3 separate regions of the Homo sapiens genome follow, and all the other regions are linked to region 1. Evidence: promoter capture Hi-C in 16 types of primary human blood cells and fetal thymus (Javierre and others, 2016). All regions are on one chromosome and are shown on one strand. Each heading gives the region's core, a stretch centred on a gene start or on the middle of the fragment in contact. The rest is flanking DNA. Distances are from core to core; before and after follow the strand shown. Region 1 holds the start of OR10AD1 (olfactory receptor family 10 subfamily AD member 1). Region 2 has its middle 40 kb from the start of ANP32D. Region 3 overlaps ZNF641 (zinc finger protein 641).

Evidence for each region. Contacts are between HindIII fragments. The CHiCAGO score rates a contact against its expected background, and 5 or more counts as called.
Region 2: a contact is called between a fragment that was not itself captured here and the fragment with the promoter of OR10AD1 in region 1, in 1 of 17 cell types (naive CD8 T cells). The highest score is 5.5, in naive CD8 T cells.
Region 3: a fragment that was not itself captured here is called in contact with the fragment with the promoter of OR10AD1 in region 1 in 5 of 17 cell types (neutrophils, monocytes, non-activated CD4 T cells and 2 more); the score reaches 9.5 in neutrophils.

What each region holds. Positions count from the first base shown.
Region 1 is chr12:48,201,661-48,204,726 of GRCh38, reverse strand. It overlaps OR10AD1 (olfactory receptor family 10 subfamily AD member 1), which reads left to right and starts at 1,435. Exons shown (of 1, transcript NM_001004134.1): 1 at 1,435-2,388. The coding sequence starts at 1,435. The coding sequence ends at 2,388. The region is part of intron 1 of LOC102725258 (a long non-coding RNA gene); the gene reads right to left. The HindIII fragment of the contact is 3,232 bases long and covers 1-1,966 here.
Region 2 is chr12:48,430,740-48,433,805 of GRCh38, reverse strand. It overlaps a transcript of C12orf54 not described here. Among named protein-coding and RNA genes, the nearest start is that of ANP32D, 40 kb to the left of the region's middle. The HindIII fragment of the contact is 168 bases long and covers 1,312-1,479 here.
Region 3 is chr12:48,342,675-48,345,740 of GRCh38, reverse strand. ZNF641 (zinc finger protein 641) reads left to right here. Exons shown (of 6, transcript NM_001172681.2): 4 at 267-396; 5 at 1,029-1,142; 6 at 2,014-3,066. The coding sequence ends at 2,768. Among named protein-coding and RNA genes, the nearest start is that of ZNF641, 6.7 kb to the left of the region's middle. The HindIII fragment of the contact is 4,744 bases long and covers 1-3,066 here.

The DNA of each region.
Region 1 (3,066 bases), core at 186-2,685:
GAAAAGGAGAGGGAGAAGAATGAGGATTGGAAGTAGACTGAAAAACGAAAAAAGACTAACAGAGGGTAGTGTGAGAGTGTGTAGAAAAGAGAGTAGGAGAGGAGAAAATAAAGAGAAATGGTTGGCAGAACTGAAAGTTAAGCAGGAATATACTTATCATCTATAAGCATCTGAAGATGAGGATGGGTGCAGTAGCTCACATCTGTAATCCCAGCACTTTGGGAGGCCAAGGCAGGAGAATCACTTAAAGCCAGAAGTTCAAGACCAGCACAGGTGACATAGTGAGTACCTGTCTCTATAAATTCTTAAAAAAAAAAAAAAAAGTATAAGCATCTGAAGGTGGAAGGGATCTGATACATCTTAGCTCCAAAACAACATGAAAAGTATAAGACAGACTTAATATGAACATAACAACTTCCTAAAAGTTACAATAGAGAGATAAGAGCATAAGAATTGTGACCGCTCATTCTTTGAAAATGGAAAAAGAACAAGATTTGTTGCCAGAGACAAAGAGACAGTTGAAAGTTCTCTGAAGGTCCATTCTAGAAAGGTTAGATATATGCCCTGCTCATAGCTTCCCTTTTCACACAGGGATGGTTGGATCCTTTCCACCCAATTGTGTGTAACCGTAAATTCCAGCCCCAGGAGGAAAACCATCTCCTATTAGGAAGGCATGCATGAGCCCCCACCCAGCCCTCAGCTCCAGCATGCACAGCATGGGTGGCTGCGGTAGCAGCAGCAACTGCTGGGCGAGTGAGTCTGGGAAGAGGTGGGTGACTGGGAAGAGCTTGACATGACTGTCTCCAAAAAGGTGCAAATCACTGTTAGCTGAGGGACAATTGTGAGGATTAGAATGTTTTTATTTTCCCTGAAACTTCAACCCATTCATCATTTTAAATTAGGTACACAGAGGTTGAGCATTTTTGCTTCTAGAAAAATACACCTTCAAATATCTCAAGTGCTTCCTAAATACAATCTTCTATAACCTGATAGCCACCAGCCCTTTCCCTCACACACTCCATTCTTCAATTCCTAAAACTTTTCCTCAGTTGGCATGGTCCCAGACCCAATTATCTTATTTTTTCACCTCTGAATACATCCTGGTTAATGGCTAATCCTTCAATATTGAGGGCTCTGGAGCAGATGCAATACTTCACTTGATGCCTGATGAAACCAGAGTAAAGAACATTACAACCAGCACTTTCTTCATCTGTTGATATTATGATTCTATGTATGCAGCCTGTGATGACCCTGGCATTTTCACCACCCCGTAACACTGCCAAATTACTAGTTTACTAAGTTCCAAAAGGTTGACCACCATTCATCCATCCTGTTTTATAATTGGGCTTCTGGGACCAAGTGGGTACCTTCTATTACCCCACAGCTATACCCTTGTGCTTTTCCCATCATCTTTCCTCCTCAAACAGGCCCCAGATGCTAAGGAATGGCAGCATAGTGACGGAATTTATCCTCGTGGGCTTTCAGCAGAGCTCCACTTCCACACGAGCATTGCTCTTTGCCCTCTTCTTGGCCCTCTACAGCCTCACCATGGCCATGAATGGCCTCATCATCTTTATCACCTCCTGGACAGACCCCAAGCTCAACAGCCCCATGTACTTCTTCCTCGGCCATCTGTCTCTCCTGGATGTCTGCTTCATCACCACTACCATCCCACAGATGTTGATCCACCTCGTGGTCAGGGACCACATTGTCTCCTTTGTATGTTGCATGACCCAGATGTACTTTGTCTTCTGTGTTGGTGTGGCCGAGTGCATCCTCTTGGCTTTCATGGCCTATGACCGTTATGTTGCTATCTGCTACCCACTTAACTATGTCCCGATCATAAGCCAGAAGGTCTGTGTCAGGCTTGTGGGAACTGCCTGGTTCTTTGGGCTGATCAATGGCATCTTTCTCGAGTATATTTCATTCCGAGAGCCCTTCCGCAGAGACAACCACATAGAAAGCTTCTTCTGTGAGGCCCCCATAGTGATTGGCCTCTCTTGTGGGGACCCTCAGTTTAGTCTGTGGGCAATCTTTGCCGATGCCATCGTGGTAATTCTCAGCCCCATGGTGCTCACTGTCACTTCCTATGTGCACATCCTGGCCACCATCCTCAGCAAAGCCTCCTCCTCAGGTCGGGGGAAGACTTTCTCTACTTGTGCCTCTCACCTGACTGTGGTCATCTTTCTCTACACTTCAGCTATGTTCTCTTACATGAACCCCCACAGCACACATGGGCCTGACAAAGACAAACCTTTCTCCCTCCTGTACACCATCATTACCCCCATGTGCAACCCCATCATTTATAGTTTCCGCAACAAGGAAATTAAGGAGGCCATGGTGAGGGCACTTGGAAGAACCAGGCTGGCCCAGCCACAGTCTGTCTAGCAGGAAGGCCCTGAAAGGAAAGCTCCTTCACCTGGGGAATGGGAGAGTTACCCCATCCCCAGCCCTGGCAGATGAGTAACTCTCCTATGCTGAAAGGCTCCAGGAAAGAGCGTTCATGGCTTCCTTGGCACTAGAATCAGACCTGAAAGTTCCTCCTGATGTCCAATGTCCTGATGTTATCTCTCTGACTTCACTTCCACATTGTTTTTTCTTGGACCTTCCTCGGGAGAATTTCGGATTTTCCTTAGTTTTTTTCCTCAGTTTCTTTTCCTCTTAAGTTCTCACAACAGGATTCAATAAATAAGTGCACTTAACTCCATTTTATTTGTATATACCTTTACATGCTAGTCCCCCAACCTGAGTTTCGTACATACATTTAGAAATAAACTCTTTTATTTTTCAGCTCTTCATTTTACTGTTTTTCTTTCTCAAATTCCACTCTCACTTCCTGGGTCTACCCTCATCTACCCAATTCCTGTGAAAAGTAGGTAAAGAAGCAAGAAAAAAAGGGCTGGGCGCAGTGGCTCATGACTGTAATCTCAGCACTTTGGGAGGCTGAGGATGGAGTTTGAGACCTGCCTGGGCAACATAGGGAGACCCATCTCTACAAAAAATTTAAAAAATGAACTGGGTGTGGTGGCACATGCCTGTAGTCCCAGCTACTGAGGAGGCTGAGGT
Region 2 (3,066 bases), core at 146-2,645, 230 kb before region 1:
TCCTATTTGGCCATCTTGGCTCCACCGCTGGCAAAGAATATTTTTAAAAGCTTCTGGCTGGCCGGGTGCGGTGGCTCACACCTGTAATTCCAGTACTTTGGGAGGCCAAGGTGGGCAGATCACAAGGTCAAGAGATCAAGACCATCCTGGCTAACATGGTGAAACCCCGTCTCTACTAAAAATACAAAAAATTAGCCAGGGGTGGTGGTGGGTGCCTGTAGTCCCAGCTACTCAGGAGGCTGAGGCAGGAGAATGGTGTGAACCTGGGTGGCGGAGCTTGCAGTGAGCCGAGATTGAGCCACTGCACTCCAGCCTGGGCAACAGAGCAAGATCCTGCCCCCCCCCCCCCCAAAAAAAAGCTTGTTGCACAGTAACTGTACTTTGAATGTGTAAGTTGTGAGTCAAGAAATGGAGAATCCATTTAGGATAAGTTCTCACCAGAGGGATCCCACTGCTAAGGCAGTTCAAAATAGTTTTTTGAATAGAATCGCCTATCATGCAAAGGTCAGTCTTTCCTTCCTGGTGAGCCTAGTTCTGGTCCATGAACGCACAAGCACTGTAGCCGTGGCTGAGCAAGGTGGTGGTTATGCAAACGGCAACATTTTCTTTCATTCACCAAGGCTGATCTGCTGTTGCCATTGGTGACAGGTATTTTGATAAAGGTCACACATAAATTTTGCCAGATATATTACCAGATACCATCTATTTTTTGTTCCTATTGTGAATTAAAAATTCAGATATATTTACTACTTGGTTATTTCTGATGTATAGGAACGTTGTGGTATTTTGTACATTGATCTTGTATCTGTCAAGTTTGTTGAACTATCTTTCTAGTACTACTGTCTTGTTTATACATACTATTGGATTTTAACATTACATTTTAATTATTTTATCTTAAATTAGGGTAAGATTTTTTATATGCTTTTTTTTTTTTTGTAGAAAAAGTTTCACTCTTGTTGCCCAGGCTGCAGTGCAATGGTGTGATCTGGGCTCACTGCAACCTCCACCTCCTGAGTTCAAGCGATTTTCCTGCCTCAGGCTCCCCAGTAGCTGGGGTTACAGGCATGTACCACCACGCCTGGCTAATTTTGTACTTTTAGTAGAGATGGGATTTCTCCATGTTGGCCAGGCTGGACTTGAACTCCTGATCTCAGGTGATCAGCCCACCTTGGCCTTCCAAAGTGCTGGGATTACAGGCATGAGCCAGTGTGCCTGGCTGTATGCAATTTTTATATATCTCATTTTTAAAGTTCATGCAGCAGCCAGGACCTCCAGTATAGATATCTTTCTGTTAGGATCAATGAGAAAGCTTCTCATGTTTCAGCATTAAGGATGATGTTCTATTTTTGATGAATATCTTTAAGTTATTAAGAGAGTTCTTTTTTGTTTGTGTTTTCTGAACCTATGGATTATATTGAAAGGAGAGTTCTTTTCTAAACATATTTTGCTAAGAATTGGTGTGAGATTTTATCACAAGCTTTTTCTGCTTCTATTGAGGACTACGGTTGTTTCTCTTTTGTTCAGTACTGTATAGTGTCTGTCACACAATAGGCATGCAATAAAAACATTTTGGAAAAAAATAAATTCATTGAAATGGTTATATGGTTTTTGTCATTTAATTTGTTAATAACAAATTGTATCAGTGCATGTTCTGTTTTTGAAGAATTGTTGCATTCCTGGAATCAGCCTACTTAGGTAGAGTATTAAAAACTTAATTAACTTTTACCAGTATTTAACTTAGGAATTTCCTATTTGTATTTATAAGTGAGATACTATAATTTTTTTATTGCATTCACTCCATCTTTTCTTTTTAAGAACTTTATTGAGATTATAATTTATACATCACAATATTCAGCCATTCAAAGTGCACAAGTCAATGGTTTCTAGCATATTTACAGAGTTTTGCACCCATCACTACCACCAATCTCAGGACATTTTGTCATCCCCAAAGAAATCTCACACCTATGGGTAGTCACTCTCCAATCCCATCCCCATTCTTGGCCCTAGAATTCCACTAAACTACTTTTTATGTATATAGATTTGCCTATTCTAGACATCCAATACTGATATCAATAATATGCTTTCATTCATCTTTGTATTTTCTTAAAATATTTGCTTAAAGAAGAGATGATCACTTTCTCGAAGGTTTTTATAAAACTCATCTTTGACATTTTAAGGATTTCTTGTCTTGTTGAGAAAATTTTTTATTTCTAATTTAATTCCTTTGATGATTATTGTACACTTGTGTTTTATATTTTGTTAGTGAATCAATTTTGGTGATTTGTAATTTTCATCACTATTTTTCATCTAATTTAATTAGTATTTTGTTTCTCATAATATTCTCTTATAATTTTTAAATATTGACTCATGTATTCAGCATTCATTTCATTTGAAAATGAAAAGTTTCCAACATACAGCAAAGTTAACAGAATTTTATAGTGAATACCCAGATAATCACATCTAAATTTTATAATTAACATTTTAATATACATTCTTTTTTACTTTTTATTTTTCCATAGGTTATTGAGGGTACAGGTGGTGTTTGGTTACATGAGTAAGTTTTTTAGTGGTGATTTGTGAGATTTTGGTGTACCCATCACCTGAGCAGTACACATTGCACCCTATTTGTAGTCTTTTATCCCTCCCCCACCACCCTTCCCCACAAGTTCCCAAAGTCCATTGTATCATTCTTATGCCTTTGCATCCTCATAGCTTAGGTCCCACATATGGGTGAGAACATACAATGTTTGGTTTTCCATTGCTGAGATATTTCACTTAGAATAATAGTCTCCAGTCTCACCCAGGTTGCTGTGAATGCCATTAATTGATTCATTTTTATGGCTGAGTAGTATTCCATCGTATATATATACCACAGTTTCTTTACCCACTCGTTGATTGATGGGCATTTGTGTTGGTTCCACGATTTTGCAATTGCAAATTGTGCTGCTATAAGCATGCATGTGCAAGTATCTTTTTTGTGTAATGATTGATTTTCCTCTGGGTAGATACTCAGTAGTGAGATTGCTGAATCAAATGGTAGTTCCACTTTTAGCTCTTTAAGGAATC
Region 3 (3,066 bases), core at 258-2,757, 140 kb before region 1:
TGAGTTTATGGTGCCTCCAGCTTCTCATGGCCCCACTTGGGAAATTCCTCCAGTAACATTACACTCACTCACTCCTTGACCATCTACCTTTACTCCTCTCCTCATTTCCCTGTTACCAAAACTATGTGCCCTACCCAGGGACTTCTGGGCAGCTCTTTTCTCAGATCATTTCTCACCCTCTCTCCTCTACTAACTTAGCCTTTCATACTGAATCACATTTTCCTTAAAAAACAGCTGCTGACAGAAGATGCTACATTTTGTTTCAGGGCCTGGTAACCATCAAGGATGTGTCACTGTGCTTCTCTCAGGAGGAGTGGCGGAGCCTGGACCCCTCTCAGACAGACTTTTATGGAGAATATGTCATGCAGGAAAACTGTGGGATAGTAGTCTCTCTGAGTAAGCATGACCTTCTCCAGCCACTAGAAGATTGGACTCTGGGAGGACGGAGCCATCTGCTTCAGGGCTATTGGATAGTGTCTGTCTAGGACTCTTTATGTGGCAGGGAATCTGTCTATGCTTCCGCTGGAGAAAGAACACTAGGGCCAATCCCAAGAGAATGAGAGTAAATATCATTAAAAAAAAAAAAGTAAAAAAGCAAATGATGCTTAATTGTGGAGTAGAACTTGAGGTTCTTCTTGGTTGGGAATTAGGAGGTTCTCATAAAGCAGAGAGAACTGGAACTGGGTCCTTGTAAACTTGGGAACCATGTAGAGGAAGATAGGGATGCAGGGAGTAGGACTGTCGTAGTAGGACTAAAGTGAAGTTACGCCCAGAAAGGCCAGCTGGGCTGGAAGTATCTGAGTGGAAGAAAACAGGTTCATTGGGAAGGAGAGTGATTTTCTAGGCAGAGAAGAGGGACTTAACAGAAATGGGTGGGGGAAGAGGTTGGGGTGGGGATATGTTTCTTTCTTGACCTTCTTTTGTCTAGAGTTCCAAACAATAGGAAACAGTTTTTTGTATTTTTTTTTCAGAAATATAGAATTGCTGTTGAACTAATTGACAGCTCTATTTTCCTTTCCCATGAGCAGGATTTCCAATTCCCAAACTGGACATGCTTTCTCAACTAGAAGGAGGAGAAGAACAATGGGTCCCTGACCCCCAGGACTTAGAGGAGAGGGACATTCTGAGGGTCACATATACAGGTAAGAACCTAGAATAGGCTTTCAGCCACTTCCTTCACAGTTCGGGACATCATCATTCCATGTTCGTTTAATCCCTCCTCTGCCTCAGAGAGTTCCAGAGACAAAAGGTTTAGAGATTTTTTTCTTCAAAAGCAAGGGAGTGTAATAGAATGATGTAGCAGGCACTTTGTGGATTTGAATTCTGGGCTGTAGTTGTGGGACCTTGGAAAAGTAATAAAACTCCCTTTGGTTTCTTCATCTGTAAATTATTGTGAAAATTAAATATATGAATATATTAGAATATTAGAATAGAACAGTGCCAAGCACATAATAAGCACTCAATAAATGTTAGTTGTTGTTATTGTTGATATTGTTGTCAACCTCCCACCCATTTCAGGAATGCCTTGAGGACTGCCGACAGGTGTCATTCAGCCAGTGACAATTGCGGCACATTCTGTAATTCTCTCCATCTATGCTTAGATAGAAAGATGCTGATTAATAGTAATATACAGTAGTAAATAAATAATGGTAATAAATAATAACAATAACATATACAATTTACTAAGTACTTAAACTATGTGCAGGTTCTGTGCTATCTATCTTATAACTGCCGGAGAGAGAGGTATTATTCCAATTTTACAGAAGAAATGAAGGTTTAGGGAAGTTAAGTGGGAAAGCTGAGATTCCATCTTAGGTAATCTGCCTCCTAAGCCTAGGCTTTTAACCTCTATATCTATTGCACTGTCTTGTACGACATTAGACTATGTTCTCTCAGCCCTTCTGGGGTCAAGTCTGGGCCCTGGCAGGTATCAGACAACCTCATTTGTGACTTAGGCCTCAAGCACTCTCTTGTGACTCTTCTCTTGGGGTTGGTATTTCCCCTTCTCCGCAGGAGATGGAAGTGAACATGAGGGGGATACCCCTGAACTAGAAGCAGAACCTCCCAGAATGTTATCCAGCGTGTCTGAAGATACTGTTCTCTGGAACCCGGAGCATGATGAGAGCTGGGATTCCATGCCCAGCAGCTCCAGAGGAATGCTCCTGGGGCCCCCTTTTCTTCAGGAAGATAGTTTCTCAAACCTGCTGTGTAGCACAGAGATGGATTCCCTGTTAAGACCCCACACATGCCCCCAGTGTGGGAAACAGTTTGTATGGGGTTCCCACCTTGCCAGGCATCAACAAACACACACTGGGGAGAGACCCTACAGCTGCCTCAAGTGTGAGAAGACCTTTGGGCGAAGACATCACCTCATCAGGCACCAGAAAACCCACCTACATGACAAGACCAGCAGGTGCTCTGAGTGTGGTAAGAATTTCCGATGCAACTCCCATCTGGCCAGCCACCAGAGAGTGCATGCAGAAGGCAAATCCTGCAAAGGCCAAGAGGTTGGAGAGAGCCCTGGCACAAGGAAACGGCAGCGTGCCCCACCAGTGCCAAAGTGTCACGTGTGCACTGAATGTGGGAAGAGCTTTGGCCGAAGGCACCACCTTGTGAGACACTGGCTGACCCACACTGGGGAGAAGCCCTTCCAGTGCCCTCGCTGTGAGAAGAGCTTTGGCCGAAAACATCACCTGGACAGGCACCTGCTCACCCACCAGGGACAAAGTCCCCGGAACAGCTGGGACAGAGGAACATCTGTCTTTTGAAATCTGTTTCCACTACAGCTATGGTCAAGTCTATCAGCCGGTGCTACCAGGAGTCACTGCCAGGGCTGCCGTTCTCCTGAACCCCAGTGGCCAGAATCATAAGCCCTGACCCCATCCCTAGAAAGATGAGGTCCCAGCAATGGCCAGAGCATTTCTCACCAGTTCTGTGAGATAGCACATAAAAATAGAGTTCTTTGGGCAAAACTTTTGGGAAGCAATGCATCCTACATGGGCTGATATTCAGCCTGAGCTGTTCTCAAGAGGAGAGTGGTACTGGCAGTTTATGGCTGAAATCCAT